7 separate regions of the Homo sapiens genome follow, and regions 1, 2, 3, 5, 6 and 7 are each linked to region 4. Evidence: promoter capture Hi-C in 16 types of primary human blood cells and fetal thymus (Javierre and others, 2016). All regions are on one chromosome and are shown on one strand. Each heading gives the region's core, a stretch centred on a gene start or on the middle of the fragment in contact. The rest is flanking DNA. Distances are from core to core; before and after follow the strand shown. Region 1 has its middle 22 kb from the start of BATF. Region 2 overlaps DLST (dihydrolipoamide S-succinyltransferase). Region 3 holds the start of LOC105370569 (a long non-coding RNA gene). Region 4 holds the start of TMED10 (transmembrane p24 trafficking protein 10). Region 5 overlaps JDP2 (Jun dimerization protein 2). Region 6 overlaps PROX2 (prospero homeobox 2). Region 7 overlaps JDP2 (Jun dimerization protein 2).

The links. The method cuts DNA at HindIII sites, captures the fragments that hold promoters and counts their contacts. A CHiCAGO score of 5 or more calls a contact.
Region 1: a contact is called between a fragment that was not itself captured here and the fragment with the promoter of TMED10 in region 4, in 6 of 17 cell types (neutrophils, monocytes, activated CD4 T cells and 3 more). The highest score is 11.6, in neutrophils.
Region 2: a contact is called between a fragment that was not itself captured here and the fragment with the promoter of TMED10 in region 4, in 1 of 17 cell types (fetal thymus). The highest score is 6.0, in fetal thymus.
Region 3: a contact is called between a fragment that was not itself captured here and the fragment with the promoter of TMED10 in region 4, in 1 of 17 cell types (total CD8 T cells). The highest score is 5.3, in total CD8 T cells.
Region 5: a contact is called between a fragment that was not itself captured here and the fragment with the promoter of TMED10 in region 4, in 3 of 17 cell types (neutrophils, monocytes and megakaryocytes). The highest score is 7.8, in neutrophils.
Region 6: a contact is called between a fragment that was not itself captured here and the fragment with the promoter of TMED10 in region 4, in 1 of 17 cell types (fetal thymus). The highest score is 5.7, in fetal thymus.
Region 7: a fragment that was not itself captured here is called in contact with the fragment with the promoter of TMED10 in region 4 in 2 of 17 cell types (monocytes and neutrophils); the score reaches 11.5 in monocytes.

The regions. Positions count from the first base shown.
Region 1 is chr14:75,499,491-75,502,190 of GRCh38, forward strand. No RefSeq gene overlaps it. Among named protein-coding and RNA genes, the nearest start is that of BATF, 22 kb to the right of the region's middle. The HindIII fragment of the contact is 4,882 bases long and covers 1-2,700 here.
Region 2 is chr14:74,883,632-74,886,331 of GRCh38, forward strand. It overlaps DLST (dihydrolipoamide S-succinyltransferase), which reads left to right. Exons shown (of 15, transcript NM_001933.5): 3 at 1,955-2,003. Among named protein-coding and RNA genes, the nearest start is that of DLST, 3.1 kb to the left of the region's middle. The HindIII fragment of the contact is 644 bases long and covers 943-1,586 here.
Region 3 is chr14:74,837,499-74,840,198 of GRCh38, forward strand. It overlaps LOC105370569 (a long non-coding RNA gene), which reads left to right and starts at 1,668. Exons shown (of 2, transcript XR_944033.3): 1 at 1,668-2,647. The HindIII fragment of the contact is 4,486 bases long and covers 1-2,700 here.
Region 4 is chr14:75,175,181-75,177,880 of GRCh38, forward strand. TMED10 (transmembrane p24 trafficking protein 10) reads right to left here and starts at 1,432. Exons shown (of 5, transcript NM_006827.6): 1 at 1,175-1,432. The coding sequence starts at 1,399. RefSeq lists enhancers at 1,256-1,828, 1,343-1,582. The HindIII fragment of the contact is 2,239 bases long and covers 1-1,598 here.
Region 5 is chr14:75,466,545-75,469,244 of GRCh38, forward strand. All of the region lies in intron 3 of JDP2 (Jun dimerization protein 2), which reads left to right. Among named protein-coding and RNA genes, the nearest start is that of JDP2, 40 kb to the left of the region's middle. The HindIII fragment of the contact is 1,468 bases long and covers 673-2,140 here.
Region 6 is chr14:74,859,396-74,862,095 of GRCh38, forward strand. All of the region lies in intron 3 of PROX2 (prospero homeobox 2), which reads right to left. LOC124903348 (a long non-coding RNA gene) reads left to right here. Exons shown (of 2, transcript XR_007064269.1): 2 at 1-40. Among named protein-coding and RNA genes, the nearest start is that of PROX2, 15 kb to the right of the region's middle. The HindIII fragment of the contact is 634 bases long and covers 1,031-1,664 here.
Region 7 is chr14:75,444,672-75,447,377 of GRCh38, forward strand. The region is part of intron 2 of JDP2 (Jun dimerization protein 2); the gene reads left to right. Among named protein-coding and RNA genes, the nearest start is that of JDP2, 18 kb to the left of the region's middle. The HindIII fragment of the contact is 4,825 bases long and covers 1-2,706 here.

The sequences.
Region 1 (2,700 bases), core at 24-2,523, 320 kb after region 4:
CTGGGTCCAGGACATCCAGGCCAGCAAATGGCGGAGACATCATGCTGAGTAGGGGATACGGAGTTTTCCAACCACATCACAGGAACTTTCCCGGGGCTCAGGGCTCAGCTCTCAGTGTCATTAAGGTAGTTAGAGAATTGACTCTGACGTTGTTCTCTTTGTCTCTGGCTTGAGAGTAGGGACTGTTGGAAGCACTGGGACCTTATTTTGCCCTTGGGGCTGAGCTCTTCACAAAGGAGATGCCTAATGAGGCTTGAAGATGGCGTCTCCCTGAGCTTTTTCAGAGGAATCCAGGAGCAGCGGTGACAACTAAAAGGTAGCGGCAGTGACACCAACACAGCAGACATTTAAGGAGCGGTGACCACGTGCTCAGGCCTAAGCGCTTTCTAGTCATCATCTCATTGAACTCTCCCAACAAAGCGTGTGGCTACTTTTATTATTCCCACTCCACAGATGACGCCTGAGCCTGGGAGAGGCTTTCTCAGAGTCCCACAGCCATTTGTAGAGCTGGGGTTGCCAGGAGTCCCGGGCCCCAGGCTCCAGTCGCTCTTCCCACCATAGGAGCTGGCAGGACTGGGCTTTGGAACCTCACCTCCTACCAGCGTGTTTTTGGAAGTGGCTATTCTTTTAGGTTCTGCTAACCAAGCCAGGACTAAACCAAAAGGAGAACTCACAAAAGGGTAGCCTTAGGATGTTCACTCAAAACTGCAGGGCATACAATGGTAAATAAGTAAATAGGTTTAAATGGTTTTTAAATTTTAATTAAAAAAAAATAAGGCTGGGCATGGTGGCTCACACCTGTAATCCCAGCACTTTGGGAGCCCGAGGTGGGCAGATCACTTGAGGTCAGGAGTTTGAGACCAGCCTGGCTGACATGGTGAAACCCTATCTCTACTAAAAATACAAAAATTGGCCAGGCATGGTGGTGCGCATCTGTAATCCCAGCTACTCAGGAGGCTGAGGCAGAAGAATCGCTTGAACCTGGGAGACAGAGGCCGTAGTGAGCTGTGATCATGCCACTGCACTCCAGCCTGGGTGACAGAGCAAGACTTCGTCTCAAAAAAAAAAAAATTAAAATTAAAAACAAAACTGTAGAGTATTATCTAAGCCTGGTCATCTTATGCTTTCCGGGCAACACTTTCGGATCAGGAATAAGATGTGAGAGTCCAGATTGAATCAGTTTATCTGTTGGAAGGAGATAAAAGGAGAAAGTTTTTCCAAGCAGCTCCTAAGGGGGAGATTTTTTTGTTGTTGTTGCTATTGTTCTTAACTACTATAAAAATGGTTCATGTGTGTGGTAATAAAATTTCAAACAGTTACAAAAGGATAAAGAAAACATAAGTTTTCCACATCTCCCGGCCTACCCCTAGACTGACTCTTTAGACGTAAACATTTAAAATCAGATCTAGGTTTTGTCCTCCTGTGGTTATAGGCAGAATTCTAAAATATGTTTATACTTCTCTCTCTTAGTTTATCTACTTTAAAGATTGTTTGAAAACTCCTTTATACTTTGAATATTGAGGAATTTAACTCAGTTATATTTCACCGCATGTTCTCCCTCCCAATTTTTATTTTTATATTAAGTCTATCGGAATCTTTATAACTTTAAATAATATACTTACATCTCAATTTCTTGGCCCGTCACCTTTTACAGTATGTCTAACTTACAAAGTGTAAGTTCAGGAAAATACACAAGGCAGACTTCCTTCTGCCTTGTAATGGACACTGTGGTGTGGCGTGCTGCCCAGATCCCTTTCAGGACCAAGGCCTTGATTCCCCAACTTTGGGGAGTGCTGGCAGCTAAGAGGTCTCAGCTGAGTCCCTCTCCAAGAATTGCTTTTGGCTGAAGGGAGTTACCTGGAGATTATGTGAGAGATTATGCCACCTCCCAGAGGGCAGCCCATATCCAGTGACTGGTCAGTATGGGTTATGTGTTATAATGGTGTAGCCAGCCTATTGGCCTCAATGGAGCAACTTTGAAGAGCCATCTGCCTCCTCCCAAACTTCTTGCAGCATTGACTGGGGCCTTGTATCTACTCACTCCTCCCCTGCCTGGTCTTGGCTCCCTCAACTCTCACAGGTGATGTTTCTGAGAACACTCTCCAACAACCTCCCTATACCCAAGTCTTAGAGTCTCAGAGTCTGTTCTCTGGGGAACTTATAAATACCTTCTCTGTATCTCCTATTTCTATTTCTGATTATGGTCAGCTAATAAACAATTACTTTTAATTTTTTTTACTGTGAAATATTTCAAACATACAAACAAGAAAATATAATAATAAAATTAAAACCGGAAGAAACACCACTATAAATAACATTGTCATTTTTTATTCTACCATGACTTTATTATATTACTTTACTATAACTTAGTCTTCCATGCTTTATTCAAAGATTGTTCCTAAGAATTGAAAACAGAAGACAGTAATTACAATAATTTTATTGTGTATTCTTTAGTGACAATCTAAATAGTGAGGTTTGACCTGCAGACAAGCAAATGTAATCCTATGCTATTCAAACTGAGCCGCCTAAAGGGAACTGTTGCAAGATCAAATGTCAAATGGATTTTTTTTATTGTTACAATCTACCAATTGCATAAAATTGTATTACATTTTGGTTTGCTTCTTTTTCAAATTACAACTTTCTATATAGATTTTTACTGGAGTCACCTTTGTTTCATCTTGGTGACAAAATAACATAAAC
Region 2 (2,700 bases), core at 15-2,514, 290 kb before region 4:
TTATATGAGTGCTTTCTGTGAATTTTTTAGTTAATCATCTCAAAACAGTAAAAAGTATTTTCTCTATTTTACAAATGCATAACCCAAGACAAGAGAGCTTAAAAGCCTTGGCCATGGTCACCCACCCAGCTGTTGATAAGCCAGGTCTACCTGACCCATCCTGAACTCTTAACCCACCATGTTCTCATTTACTCATGGACTCAACAGATCATTTATTGAGTGCTTACTATATGCCAGCCACTGTTCTAGGTAACAGGGGTATAGATAGACTCTAGCCTCGAGATTTTATGGGCTAGCTGGAGAGAGAGAGCAAATATACATTTATGCTCCGACAAGGGCATAAATTTTGGTTACTACGAGAGAGGAATTAAAGGGTGTGATGAGAGGGTGGGATGATGTAGACCAGCTTGGGAAGGTTGGGAATGTCAGTAAAGGCTTCCCTGAAGAAGTGACATTTAACTGAGACCTGAATATAAAAGAGCCAAGAAAATGTATTCCAGGCAAAGGGAATTGCTTGTGCAAAGGTTTTCAGACAGGAAAGGACTTGACCAGTGATAGACATGGGAAGAAGCCTGTCTGGCAGGAAAGATAGAGTGGGCTGGACGGTACAGGATCGCGTAAAGTGTGGACTTTATCCTGAGAGTTATGAGAACATAAAGCCCCTAGCACAATGTCGGCTTGTAGTGGACTCTCAATAACAAACATGTTTTTCAAGTGGGAACCCTGAACAATGTCAGTAAACATTTTCTCCACTTCATAGGTGGGCAGGACAATGGAAAGAGCCTTGCACTTGGGGATTTGCATTTGGGCTCAGGGATTCACCTTGGGCTAGTCGCTTAACCTCCAAAAGTCCTACTTATATGAAATGGGAATAATGGCAGATGGTCGTTCCACTTCAGAGAGTTGTGAGACTGTAAAATCAAAATGAGGTCATTATGGGAAAGCTTTTTATAAACCCTAAAGCACTGTACAAATGAAATTTGCTGTAGGATGAACTCTGAATTGGACTCCAGGTTCCCAAAATCAGTGTGAGCCGCCATCTATTCTAGTTCAAAAACATACTATGCTTAGAATTTGCACTGCATAGTCATTGGCTGCTGGACATAAAGGTGACTGGCTTACCTATCTTGGGATGCTTGTGAGGAGGTGGGCATAAGAGAGGGCTAGCTCTCATTTGGTGTGTCCTGAGCCCATGGTTCAGAAAGAGTTGTTAATCTGAAAGAAAAAAGACATAAGAAAGAATTCAGAAGAGGCAGCTGTAGTTACTAGTCATCAGTTGGGGAAATGCAGTTAACTATGATAAGGACAGCTGGTGGGCAGAAAGGGTCTCTCACCTTGTTGAGAGTGACCAGGGTGGAAGACTTCAGAAAGGCATGGGAAGTCAATAAACTGAAAGATGGGGACATGATTTTCTCAGCTCTAGGACAAACTGGAGACCCCGAGCCTAAAGTAGCCAAGTCTTTGCTACTAGGATTCAGGTGATAAGATTTCCAACCCAATCTTTTCAAACCCAGACCAAACATCCTCCTTGCTTCTCAAATTGGGTTATGTATAGTCACAGGATAAGCCATCCCATGTCTTTCTCAAGCTTCAGTTGTATTTGAAGACTTGGCGAGTAGAGACATTTTATTATGAAAACATACAGGAATAATGAAAAGTTCTGGCTTTTTAAGGTAGATGAGATTATATAATCACTTTGGGCTGTGCCATCAAATTTTTTCTCTTTCCTCCCCAGCCAAACACATACCCACTCGATCTCACATACCCATTTGCTCTCTGCCACTAAGGCTACTTTGGAAAAGTTTGAGAAGCAGGACTCTATGATAAAGATTATATCCGTTGCCGTTGATCCTGCTCTGTCTCAGGGTTGGGGGTGAGCAGACCTTTTCCATTCCCAGCATGTATCCTTTGTGAGATAAGAGTTGTTGGTTAAGAGTTATTTTGTTTCTTGCAGGGGTCTCCTTATGCCAGGGACCAGGTTACCCTAACAGCAGGAAGGTTGTGTAAGTATCACTGGGGAGTACAGATATGTGGCCACGGGTTATTTATTTAAAGACATAAAGTTCTAAATTTGACCATCTGATTTCTTCACTGGCCTCCAGACCTAGAAATTGAGGTGATTATGTTGAGTCCCTAGACTAACCTCAATGTTCACTTTTCCCATGTGATGTTCCTTGAGCATCAGCTCCGTGTCAGGTTTTGGACTGGGAGTGTGCCCACTCTCCACAGGTGTTTGGATTATAATGAAAGTTAAGTTGGAATCCTCTTTTTATGGGATATAGAAGGGTGCTCCTAGATATTCTGTTTGGATGTAAGTGCAGCTGAAAGGCTCGAGGTTACATTTATTGTGGAGATTGAGAGCATCCTCTCAGTAGCATAGTTACTCATTTTTAAAAACAGTAAAAGCATAAAACTGGTTGAGTCCTGGGACTGACTGACTAGTTTGGAGGGAATGCTGTTATTGCATAATGCAGAGTTTGGAGAAAGGCTACCCATGTGTGTTTCAGATTAACTTCTGCGTATGAATGTTGCTTAAATGCTGCTTTGCATTCCAAGTGTTTTTGTGGTGGTGCTAAGAGAATGCTCTCTAGTAACCTGTTCAGCAGCTGTCAGGCTGCTTACTCTACAGGGAGAATCCTCAAAGTGAAGAGGTCAGCGGATGAGCTTCTTACTTACTCTACATCACAATGAGGGTTTTTG
Region 3 (2,700 bases), core at 124-2,623, 340 kb before region 4:
TCCATAATGTGTTCTCTAGTTCAGATGAAATGGAGGCCGATATGTTCTTCTGCAGGATGCTTTATTTCAGTTGTCCTTAACCTTGTGATGTTCTGACAGTAGTTAGAATGCCAATGAAATGAGTGGTGATTATCCGTGAGTCACTTGGAATCATGGGTAATTTTGCATATGTGTGTTTTCACCTTACAGCCATGGCTTTATGTCTGTGCTCTTATACCAGGGCAGGGTGGGAAGCTGGGGAAGAGTTAACATAGTCAGAAACGGCCTCTGCCAATTTTCAGAAGATATAGATTACGTGACCTTAGAGAATGAACATAGAGTGCTCCTACTTTAGAAAATGGGTATAACAACCTTCATGCAAGGAGATTAATGAAAAAAGATTTGGCACCAAAAAGAGTAATAGAGACAGCCAGCTGATAATTGATTTTGCTAGTCCAATGTGGGACTTAACAAAATTCTTGCACTTACATTACTATTAGAAGCAGTATCGTATAGGAAGCCCAAGGTATCTTGAAGAAGAAATTTGGTGTGGGTAGAAAATGCCTTGATAATACAAATATTTTAAGTTTGTTAAGAGGTGTCCTGGAAATGCAGAGGACTAATTTTGGATTCCATTATTTGCTAGCATTTTATTTTAATTTTATTAACATTGTCTTCTCTTAGAAAGTTGCTGGTTTAAATCATATGAGTTTTATTTTAAATCTTTTGTGGTGTCATGTTACTTAAAATAATCTTATGTTGGGAAAGGTTTCTGATACCTTGGTGGGTATTTCAGCTTTTTTTTTTTTTTTGTCAGCTCTGTAAAGGATGATTTCAGACATTTTAAACTGAAAGTGAAATCTCTCACTTAAGTGATCTAACTTTACTTGTAAACTTCCTGTGTGAGGAATTCAGTAGACGAGACCCAGAAATGTTTCTGTTTGAGAATATTTAGAGTTAAGTGCCGTATTTGAAATATTCAGGGACTGATTGTAGAATCAGAAGTCATTAATAATAATACACAAGTAGTCTATTGACAGTTGATTCATATAATTTTCTAGAAGTTTGAGTTTGATTCAGATATCAGTGTTAAATCCAGAAGTTTATTGACAAAGATAAAATCTTAAATTTTCTGGTTGGATTTGTTTTCCTCGTGAAAGAGTTTTGATCATTGAGCAAACCAAAGTAGGTGCCATGTCATCTAGAGATCGACTATTACATTTTTTATTAGATTGACTAAGAATCTCAACTGAGGTTTTCTTATTTTGTAGGCCCCTCAGTTTTTGTGTTAAGTATTTTATCCTGCTAACTGTGCAAATTGCAGATATTTTGGTAAAGATGTCTAGAGCCTGGCTTAATTACTAGGATTATAAAAGCAACAGATTCTCAGCTGAGATAAGTTTTGCTAAGCCATAGAAGGAGAATGATTTCTCATTTTTAGTATTCACAGACCCTAATACAAGTTCAGATTCTTCTAGAAGCTGTATGACCTTAAGCAACTTTTTTTTTTTTTTTTTTTTTTTTGGAGACAAGGTCTCACTCTGTTGGCTGGAGTGCAGTGACGCGATATAGCTCACTGCAGCCTCAACTTCCTGGGCTCAGGTGATTCTCCCATCTCAGCCTCCCAGGTAGCTGGGACTACAAGTGTGCACCACCACACCCAGCCTTTTTTTTTTTTTTTTTTTTTAAGAGATTGGTTGTTGCCATGTTTCACAGGCTGGTCTTGAACTCCTGGGAGCAAATGATCGCCTATCTCAGCCTCCCAAAGTGCTGGGATTATAGGCGTGAGCCACCGTGCCTGGCTGAAATATTTTAACCTATCTGAGCTTCAGTTTCCTGCCTATAAAATGAAAATAACAAAACACACCTATTAAACATTGAGATAATGCATGTAAGCTACTTGGCACAGTACTGAGCACATAGTAAAAGCTCAAAAATCAGTAGTCACCATCATCGTTACTTTTTGACTTGTTCTCATGTGTTCTTTTTGAAATTCAAAATATCCAGCTGGCTTGAAGATAGTTGTCACGTTTTATAGTCAGCTATCATAGACTGAGCTATGTCATATGTAATAGTACAGTGTGTTGAAAGAGTAATTATTCAGAAGCATTTTCAGGTAACCAGTGACATTGATTTTCAGAACTAGTACGGAGGCTTGAGAGGCTCAGGTGTAAAAGGTAATTTAGTACTTAGAGGGGGTTGAGTAGTAACAGAAAGTAGTTGTCAGACCACAGGTATAAACATAGGTGAGGGCACAGAATCATTGATTTGCCTTGATTTTCACATATTCAAGAAGAAAGTAACTTTGTGAATAAATAATGCGTTCATAAAGGTATAAAACTCAGGAGGTTCAAGTGTCCCATCCATCTTAACCCTCAGCCTCCCACGACTCCATCTGTAGAGGCAACCAGTGTTGAGAAAAATTGTGTGGATAAGCATTAAGTATTAATGTTTTTACCTGGTTTTTGTACACACACTACCTTATTTTTCCTTTACCAGTATGTTTTAGAGGTCATTCAGATCATATATAAAATATTCACATTTTCTCTCCCCCCCACCTCCTTCTTTGGTTTTCCAAAGGTACCTTCATAATATAAAGAGGTTTACTGAAAAATTTCAGAAATTGTTTCAGCTGCATCTCTGTTCTTTTCGTGGCATGGAATACATGGTATGGGTATATTTGTATACAATTCTTTCATATATGTAGGTTGGTGTAACCAC
Region 4 (2,700 bases), core at 182-2,681:
ATATCAAATTATATTAATGTCTCAAAGACCAGGCCAGGCTACTCTTAGCTACAAAACAGAATCAAACTGGTATTATGGCAGTAGTTGTCACCATCCAAGAGCATAGTTGGTATTTACATAAAAGAGCCAAGTCCAGATTCTGGCATACCAAAGAAAAAGGACTAGAGACTGAGACCATTTTGTAACCAATAATCGACTTTAATCAACTACAGAAATTACAAATTTAAAACAAGGAAGGAATAAGGTTGCAGCGCTTTTCCCTCAACATACTTAACTACCAAACTAAGTAAGAATCTATTCCATCGCAAGGACAGAAAACCAAACACCGCATGTTCTCACTCATAGGTGGGAATTGAACAATGAGAACACTTGGACACAGGGTGGGGAACATCACACACCGGGGCCTGTCGTGGGGTGGGGGGAGGTGGGAGGGATAGCATTAGGAGACATACCTAATGTAAATGACGAGTTAATGGGTGCAGCACACCAACACGGCACATGTATACATATGTAACAAACCTGAAAGTTGTGCGCATGTACCCTAGAACTTAAAGTATAATAATAATTTTGAAAAAAAAAAAAGAATCTATTCCATCTGTGACACTTACTAGTTTATCCTACCTCTGAGTCTCAGTTTCCTCATTTGTAAAATGGGGCTAACAGTACCTACCTACTTCATAGGGTAGTGCATGAACCAAATGGTAATATATGCAAAGTAGCACAGTAACTGACACAGCAGATGCTCAATAAATAACATTTTATTAATCACGGTTAGCTCTGTCTCCTTTACTTTCCTGCAGGTATCGCGGTATCTTATGATGCCAATCCGTATAAATATTCAACACCCCAACATTTATTTGGAGAACCAAATTACGGTTCAATGTATCTGAGACCAAAACTGGTATAGGACGTTGACAACCGCCCCAGCTCAGGTGTCACCACATCCGCCAAAGCCTCGCAGCCCTTCTTGGGGTTCCCAGGCGTTGGTGACCCGCCCCGCCCCGCGACAGGCAACCAGCGGGGTGAGGGGGCGGGCTCCACCGCACGTCCTTTGCGCTCCCGGGAGGCCAGAACAACTCCCAGGCCTCCGCCGGCCCGACTCCCCCGAACCCGAGCCTCCCCTCGCCTAAGCCTGCCGTCTTCCCTCCCGGCCCCACGTCGCCCAATGCCGCACCTTGAGGTGGCTGCGCAGGCCGCCAGCGCCCCCAGACTGGTCGGAGATCTCGTACGCGCCAGTCACTAGCAGGTCCTTGTGAATCTCCTCACGGAGGCACTTGCGAGAGTTAATGGGCAGATGGAAGGAGATGGCAAGGACCAATCTGGGGCCGAGCAGGAACAAAAGCAGCAACGCTAACGGAAAAGGGCCGCGCCGGGCTGGTGGGCCAGACAAACCAGACATGGTGCTGGAGACTCGTTCACCACCGAAGGCCTCAACCGCGCCGGAACCGGGGGGACCCACGTGACTCACCTCTGACCTTCTGATGCCGTCCGCGCCATTTTGGAGACTGGCATGTAGAGAAAGACTCTATAGCGAATCTTTTGAAAAGGGAAGAAAGGATAGGTACCATGTCAAAACCGCAAGTTTAAGCAGTTAAAGAAGCTTTAATAGAATACTATTGCAACAGTTTTATTTTTGTTGAAGTTAGTGACTACTGAGTCGGCCATGGCAAGTATGGGCAGCCCTGGAAGTAATTCTCCTTTAATTTCCGAAAGATGTACCCACGAGTTTAAAGGCGAGTGACACCATAGCAACCAAGCCCCAATAGGAAACAGCCACAAGGCCCTTCGCTGGGCCCGCCCACCGGCCGCCTAGGCGCGAGGGCGGGGAATGAGGCTGTGTCTCCGGGGATGGGGCGGTTTGCAGGCACTCCCAAGCGCCTTTGACACCTTGATGACACCTGGGGCACTGAGACACTAGAGAGGAAAATTTCGAGGAAAGATTTCAACTTGGCTATTAGACAGTGTGGACCTTAGAGAAGAAGTTTTAGGGGTCACCTGATGAATGTGTGCCGGGCAGACATCCGGTTCATGTCCCATAGCAGGGTATTTGGGCTGGAGTAATTGTCTGGCTAACTGAATGTACATGGTATTATTATTATTATTATTATTATTATTATTATTATTATTTTAGCAAACATTGAATGTGTTCTAAGCTATATTCAAAATAAATTTGAATTTGGTATTTAAATTGAATAAAACAACATGTTTTGGTCCAGTCTCAGATGAACATAATTAAGGGGTTAGCAGATAAGCGTTGTCAGGGAAAGTGCGTATGTGTGTGTTTTAAGTTCACAAACACTTTAGGGATCAAATTAACTATTAACATTTGCAAATAGACAAGCAAATTGACACGGTAATAATTCATGCATTCATTCAATGGAGTACCTACTGTGTGCCAGACATTATGCTATGCATGTATGTCAACACGTTTATTGATTTAACAAACTATTACTGGGATACTAGCAAATATTCAGAGCTGAAGAATATATTAAAATAAACGGCCAGGCGCGGTGGCTCACACCTGTAATCCCAGCACTTTGGGAGGCTGAGGCGGGTGGATCACGAGGTCAGGAGTTCAAGACCAGCCTGGCCAAGATGGTGAAACCCCGTCTCTACTAAAAATACAAAAAAATTAGCTGGGCTTGGTGGCGGGCGCCTGTAATCCCAGCCACTCAGGAGGCTGAGGCAGAGAATTGCTTG
Region 5 (2,700 bases), core at 157-2,656, 290 kb after region 4:
TTGTATGATAGCTGCATGAGTAAAGCAAGTTACCCTACACTGCACTGATCTTTGTGTGTGATACAGACGCTCCCACATAGAGTTGGTTTGACACGTGGTAATTTCTAGGAGGCAGATCTATGTGTGCAGTGCTGTTGAATTCTGCCTGTCAGAGGCTTCCCCTTGCATGTCCAGTTTTAACTTCAAACTCACTGTACCCAAAACAAACTCCTCCTTTTCCTTCCCACCGCTTTCCAGAACAGCTGCCCTCCCAGGCTTCATTCCTCAGACCCTCCATTGGGTTCATAGTCAGCTCTCTGCCCTATCTCCTTCCTTCTCCAAATCCAGCTAGTCACCAAGATCAGCTGATTTTTCTTTGAGACGTCTTCCTTCTCTTCCTCTCTTTCTTCTTTATGCTATTCTCTTGCTTATAAGTTACAGTAAGCCTCTCTGGTTTACAGAGTGCTTTTTCCCTGTGAGTTCATCTAATCCCCAAGAGCCTCACCTGTCTACAGAGGAGATAACTGAGGCTCAGAGAAGTTAAGAAACTTGCTTCTAGACTCAGATTCTGAACCCACAAGCTTTCCAGAGCTACAGGCTGGCTCTCAACCCACCTTCTCACTTTCTACCCTACTAAGTCCTAAAGCGAGCTATGATCACAGTGGAGTAGTTTTCCCTTCTAAACCCATCCTAAGCTTTCCCATGCCTGGGTCTTTGTTCACTCAGGGTTCTCCACCCGCAAGTCCCTCCTTCCCCTTCTCAACCCAGCCTGAGTCAACCCATCTTTCATGCCCAAGGTCAGACCCGCTCTTTAGCCCTCTCTAAGGTCTTCTGAACCCTGGGTGGCTGTTGGTCACACAGTAGTAAGCTCTGCCTTGTTGCACAGATTGCTTCTTCCCCTTACAGTGGAAAGGCCACAAGAGCCAGTTGGGGGCTCATGGCTCTTGGATTCCCCAGGGCATTCACTGTACATAGCAGGGCCTCAGCAAACACTCACAGATGGGTGGGTTACCCTGACACCCCTTGAGGCAGGGGCTCAGGAGAGTTTGAAGATGGAACTAAGCCCTTGGGCTGGGGAGACCGTGATGGTCAGAGGGTTTGTGAGAAGTTCCCAAGGTCACCAGAGAGTCACCAGTGAGCAGGGGGCTGACATTGGCACCTAACTGCCCCAGCCCGAGGGCTCACAGGCTTCCATGGATTCACGAGGGGTCTCTCCTGGCCCTCCGAGATGCGCCTCTCTTGGAATTCTCAGAACAGAGGACCAGGCCAGCTTCCCAGTCACGTCCCAGCCTGTGGAACCAAAAACCACCAGAGCTGGTTTTTAATATTTTCCCCGAGCATTTTTTTTTCCTTTAGTGAGGCTGTTTTCTCTCAGCGTCTGGTCACGAGGCCTGCCCGTCTCAGAGTTCCCGGGCACTCATGCTGCCACCTCAGAGATGAGCCAAGGAACAGTTCGGTCAGACCAGCTGTGGGAGGAAGACGGGACCCCTGGAGGGAGAGGGTTGGGCCCACTGAGGGTTCTGGGGACCCCCTGGGGAGGCCGCTCCACCTGTACCCTGCCAGGAGGACTGGCAGGCTTATGGGCTTACGGGCCCTCTGGTTGTCACATACGCAGTTGCAACTACTGCTTGCTCTTTGACTGATACAAGTTGCTCAATCTCTTACGCTATCGCCATTTTGGACTAAATACTTGTGGGGCTGGCCTGTGCATTGAAGGGTGTTTAGAGCATCTCTGGCATCTACCTGCTAGATGCTGGTAGCACAGCTCCCTCTGAGTTGTGACAATCAAAAATGTCTGCAGACATTGCCAAATGTCTCCTGGGAGGCAAAAATCAGTCCTAGTTGAGAACCACTGGTCTGAAACTTTGCTGGCCCTCGAATAAATGCCAAGTCTCAAAGTTTTCAGACATAATCCAAGAAAAATCATTCAGATGCTGTTTTACTGTTCAATCCCCCAAGCCTTGAATCGATATGCCCATCTCCCATCTACACGATGGACATGTAACCCTCGCCACCTCCCGAATCAAATCGTCAACATTCCTTCCTTCCCCTGGAACCTCTCCAGCTGAGCCGGAAGTTCCCTGGAAATCTCACTCAAGGTCTATTGGAAACCTCATTTGGGATCCAGCAGGATGACTGCTGATTCCCTGTCTGTGGGCAAAGCTTCCAGATTATAGGGATAAGGAAGAGGCTATTGAAATAATTATAGACTAATAGCTAGGAAGCACATGTTTTAGGAGGAATGACATGACTACACTACACTCACTGATCCCACCGGCCAAGATATCTCCCACATGTGTCTGTCACACATCAAAGCACGTTGCCGTTACACTGCCATCTGGGTCCCCTCTTGGGCCCCCCCATGCTTGCTCCGTAGACCTGCTCTAGGTCCACCTGGCCTCCTTTCTTTGCCCACCCTTTCTTTCTTGTGCAAAGGCCCTGAGGCGGCAGAGTATTTGGCATATTTGAGCAACAGCAAGGTGGTCACTGAAGCTGGGGTGGATTGAGGGAGGGGAGAGAGGTGGGACGTGAGTCTGGCTGGCCCTAGAATATAACCTGGACATGACACAGGCCAGTGTCACCGCTGTGGCAGGCACTGCCTGCAGAAAGTCAGTTAGCCAGGGGCTCAGTAGCAGGGTCTGTGCTTCTTCCTGCAGAAAACAGGCCAGTGCCAGCCCAGCGTGCCCTGTGCCTAACCACAGGCAGAGCCTCTCCCCAGAG
Region 6 (2,700 bases), core at 98-2,597, 320 kb before region 4:
AACATAGCAGGTGCTCAATAAATATTTGTTGTGTGAAGGAGTAAGTGAGTGAACGGTCAACCTTAATCCATACACATATATGGAAATTAGATTCCAAACTATACCTCACTCTGGGAACAGACAGATTCCTTCCCCTTTAACAAGAGTCGGAGAATTGTGATGTGACTGCCTAGCACTAGGGCAGGACGGAAATGAAAAAAAGATTTACACAAATACGCTTTGCATTTTTAGGGACAGTCCTTAGGCTGGGTGAGAAGCATTACACAGAGTAACCTGGGATCTCAGATCCGAGAGCTGTAGCTTAAGACAGTGAAGACTTCCACATAGGATGAATCTGTTTAACCAAAAGAAACCAGACCAACTGACTATGGTTATAGGTGGCCCAGGCACCTAGTTGCTGCACAGGAGATCCCTCCCTGCTGCCCCATCAGCCCCTACTTACCCTTCCTACAGATCCACAAATGCTGTGGAGAGAATCCTGGATTGGGATTCCAAAGACCCAGTTTCAGACACTGATTTTGCCATCTATTAGCTGTGTGACCTTGGGCAAGCCACTTAACTGCTCTGAGCCTCATTGCTAAGATGTGGAGTATAGTGGTTAAAGCTTGTACTTGGCCATCAGATCCCGGGTTTAAATCCTGGTTGCTCATTAGTGTGTCTTGGGACTTTGGACGAGTTAGCTCCCTTCTCTGTCTCTGCTTCTCGGATACCCGATCTTAGAGTGGATGCTTGAGAACGGTGAGATAATACAGGTCTAAACCCGTTATCTGAAATGCTGAGCCAAATGGAGTTTGGATTTCAGAATTTGTTAGCTTATAAAGATAATACGATGTGTGTACCACACATTAATTAACATCCACAGCTGAGACAGTGTATAATCCAATACATTAACATTTCTGCAGCAGAACGTATGACTATACTAAGTGGGATAAAATCTATTAATAGCCTCCAATCAGTGCAAGCCAGGTTTTGCTACCAAAAAAAAAAGATTGCATCATTCTTAGGGGGGGAAAATCATAGGGCCTGTCAAAGCTTTATGGGTTTCAGAATTGTAGCTAAGTGGTGGTGGGCACATATGTGTGAAGTGCTGGTAGCAATGCCTGCCACCGAGAAGGTGTTCTGTCAATGCTCCCCTCGTGATCTTCACATCTGCCCTACCTATGTCACAGGATGTCATGTGAATGTGAACGTTCTTTTTATGCTGTAAAGCAGCTTGCTCTCAGGTGGCTTTCATGGCCCACAGGAATAAATCTCTTGGAATATAGGCAGCAGGAATGAGGGAAGAGTTGAGGGGCCAGGGTGCTGCTAGGGGGTCCCAAGTCATTCCAAAGATAGTCAAGTACTTCACCCATGCAGCCAGTCCTGGCTTAGGTATTTCTTAGGATAGGCCCCAAACCTCCAGAAGCTCTCTGAGCCCAATCCCCAATTTAGGGGGCAGGAACAGGCACATGTAGGTGCTCAACAAATAGCAAATTCTGGGAGACTGAGGTGTTTTTGCAGCTGTCTGAATTTAATGGAGAGTCAACTAGTGGTTATCAAAGGCCCAGACAGGTAGCCTTTCTTATAAAGAAAATCTGTCTATGGTGGAATCTCTGCCTCCAAGAGTGGTGGCAAGTGAAGTGTTCTCAGCATTGGTTTTACAGTTGCTCGCTAACTTCCAGGAAAGCTTTGGGGTGTTTCCAACACTTTTGACCGGCAGGGGGCGCTCATGGCATTTAGGACACAAAGGCAGGTTCTGGCATGGTAATGAGCTGGTCCCACCCCATCCTGCTGCCCTCACAGTAGTTGCCAGGCAAAGGACACGACTGTTCCCACCTGGATATGCAACTCCATAGACTCATCAGCTTCTGGAGATTCCCCTCAAAGCTGCACACAAGAAGCAGCAGCGTGAGCACAGCTAGCTTAAAAAGCAACATCCAAAATATATTCTCAAGAACTTAAGTTCTGCAAGATGCTTGTTAGAAGTGGTCATATGGGTTTGGGGCTGTGTACATTCTCCTCTTAGAGCTTCCATTTACTCATGTTAAAGGCTCTGAGAATTCCTGCAGAAAAGAAACTATCTCAGTATTTCCCCAAGGTACTTTTTCTTCTAACTCAACAATTATTAATATCCCGAGGGTTACTCTGGGAAATACATTAAGAGAGTAGTGTCTACTTAAGGGTTGCAAAGATGATGCAATAAGATCCAGAGCCCTGCAGATCAGCCTGGGCCACTCAGGCCTCCTCATGGGGAGCCTCCTCTCCCTTCATATGCCCAGCCCCTAGTCTCCAGGCACTCCATTGCACCTTGGAAGTTGTTCCTTAAACTGGAGACCTCTGGCCGTTTCCAGCCACCTCTCTGGGTTTAATCCCCGAGGAAAACTCCTTTTCCATTTGGCCCAGAAGTTTCTTGTTCCTCATCTGCTCCCCAGGAATTATCTACACAATATAGGATTTTTGCTTGTAGAGCTATGGGGTTGGGGAGGCCATACCTTAGATGACGTCATTCCTTTGACCCTCTCCTCCTAAGTTTATGGGTGGCTGACAACCAAATTATGGATTCTTTCTTCCTTAGGGTATTCATTGTATTTCAGAAGCCTATTTGAGTCTCAAAACAAAACCCTTTTAGACCCAAAGGAATAAGTCAAGTGGCAGAACCCGATGGGTCATAGAAGAAGCTAAGTGAACCTTCCCAGGTCCTTAAATTCCAGAATGTGGTCA
Region 7 (2,706 bases), core at 185-2,684, 270 kb after region 4:
TCGCGAAGATTAAGTGAGGTGCTGTGTGAAAGATGACCTTGACTGCAGTGCAGTATGTCCGTAAATTACCTTTGTTAGAGACTGATTCCATGTGTAGTGAACTACCTATTCTGACAGCACTAACCTTTCTGAAGTATTAGCCTATGACCTGGGTTTCAGGGAAGCAAGCAGACTTTCCAGTTTCTGGTTGTTTATGCAGTTTAGACGCAGCTGGAGTTTTAATTATCATAACAAACTATAAATGAGAAGGCTTTTCAAGCCTCTGTTTTCCCCTAAGCTGCCTTCTGTGACCCCTTATCTTGTTTCCTGTGGTGTTAATGTCATCGTTGTATTCCCATCAACCAACAATCTTTTAGCAGCCTTAAGAAGGGCTGTCAAGTCTTCTGTCAATCCTACCATCTTACTTTGATGTTTCCAGGTCCACCGGCAACATGGACTCAGAGTTGGGAAACTGAGTCCTCTCCTGGGTGAGGCTCATCTGGCTGAACAACTATGAAGCCATTTAAGTCTGTTTTCCTTCTACTGTGCCCAAAAGGCACAAGGCAACCTGGCCTGAGGTTGGAGCATGGAGATCTAGAGGAACTCATGGATGGATTCAGGCGGGATGTGAAAGTGCTGGGAGTGAGGGCCTGGGCCTCCTCTGGGTTTAGCCACCCTTCCAGGTTGTGTACAACCTGCCATATGCTGGGGCTCATTGACTGTGCTCTGCTCTGTGGCTACAGGATCCCCTTTTACTGAGCGTAGTGCATGTGTATGCTCTGACAAACTCCTCCGTGGTTTGCCTCTGTAGTCCTCCCTACACCCTACCAACTCCCCAGTCCCCGCGAATAAAAACCCTTGCCTTTTTGGAGGCAATGTAGCAAAGCAGGACTGCTGCATTGGAATAGTTTGGCTCTGGAGAGTTCACTAGATGTTTGAAATTCAGTTTCGTCCCTTGTAAAAATAGGGGAAATAGACCCCTACCTAGTACCTAGTACCATATACATATATTATCTCAAAATGGATCGAAGGCCTAAATGTAAGAGTGAAAACTAGAAAACTCTTAGAAGAAAACAGCTGTAAATCTTTGTGACCTTGGATTAGGTAGTGGTTTCTTAGATTTTATGCCAAAAATAAAAGCAACAAAATAAAAAAAATAAATTGGACATCTTCAAAATTAAAAACTTTGGTACTTCAAAGGACACAAAGTAAAAAGAAAATCCACAGAATGAGAGAAAATGTTTGCAAATCGTAGATCCAATAAGGGACTTGTATCTAGAATATATAAAGAATGATTACAGCTCAATAATAAGACAAATAACCCAGTAGAAAAATGGGCAAAAGATCTCAATATTAATTTCTCCAAAGAAAATATATAAATGGCAACTAAGCACATGAAAAAATGCTCAACATCATAGCCATCAAGGAAATACAAGTCAAAAACCACAATGAGATACTACTTTGCACCCACTAGGATGACTATAGTGAAAAAAAAGAGATAATAACAAGTATTGGTGAGCATGTGGAGAAGCTGTCGTCATGAATTGATCGTGGGAATGTAAAATGATGCAGCCACTTTGGAAAACAGTCTGGCAGTTCCTCAAATGGCTAAACAGAGTTCCCATGCGATCCAGCCATTTCACTCCTACATATATTTCCTTTCCCAACAGAAAGGAAAACATGTCCACACAAAAACATACATGAGAGTTTACAGTGGCATTATTCATAATAGCTCCAAAGTGGAAGCAGCTCAAATGTCCATGAATTGGTGCATGAATAAATAAAACATGGTCTATCCATACAATGGATTATTATTTAGCCATAAAAAGGAATGAAGAACTGATACATGCTGTAATATGGATGAACCTTGGAAACATTATGCTGGGTAAAAGAAGCCAGCCACAAGAGACCACAGAGTGTGTGGGTCCATTTAGATGAAATGTCCAGAATAGGCAAATTCATAGAGACAGGAAGTAGAGCCAGTACTGTGGTTACCTAGGGGTGGGGAGATGGGAGGAGTGGGGAGTGATGGCCAAGGGATATGAGGTTTCTTTTGGGGGTGATGAAAGTGTTCTAAAATTGTAGTGATAGTTGCACAACTCTGGATATAATACAAGTTGGTGAATTGTATACTTTAATGGACAAATTGTATGGTATGTGTGAGTTTGATCTCAATAAAGTGCTTTTAAAAATGGAGAATAATAATATCTGCCTTACAGGGTTGTGGGGAGGCTGAAAAGGAATAATGTATACAAATCCCCCAGTATGTAACAATGTTCCAGAATTAGTAGCTAGGGTTATTAAAACCCCCTTTTAGACCAGCGGCAGTGAAGAAGCCTTTTTTCCTTTTTATTGCTAGTATCTATCCAGGAGCAAGGAGAACAATCTGATAGGATTTAATATAGAACTAGGGAGGATATATGGTATAGAATAGCAGTTTCTAACTCTGACTACTGATTAGAATTCCCCGGAAAGTCTTTCAAAAATATTGATCCTGATTCAGCTGGTCTGAGTGGGGCTGGCAGGTGTTCTAACCTGTAGCCATTAGCTGAAAACCTGGTAATCCAGTTAAGAAACCAGCCCAGTTCTTTGAAGGAGCGAGGACATCTGTGTTCAGGTCAGAAGTCATACACAAGCAATGCACTTTATAGTTTGCAAACTTCTTTTGTAGACGTCATCTCTGATCTGTTCCAACAACCCTATGAGGTGGTGTTAGTAGTATGAGTT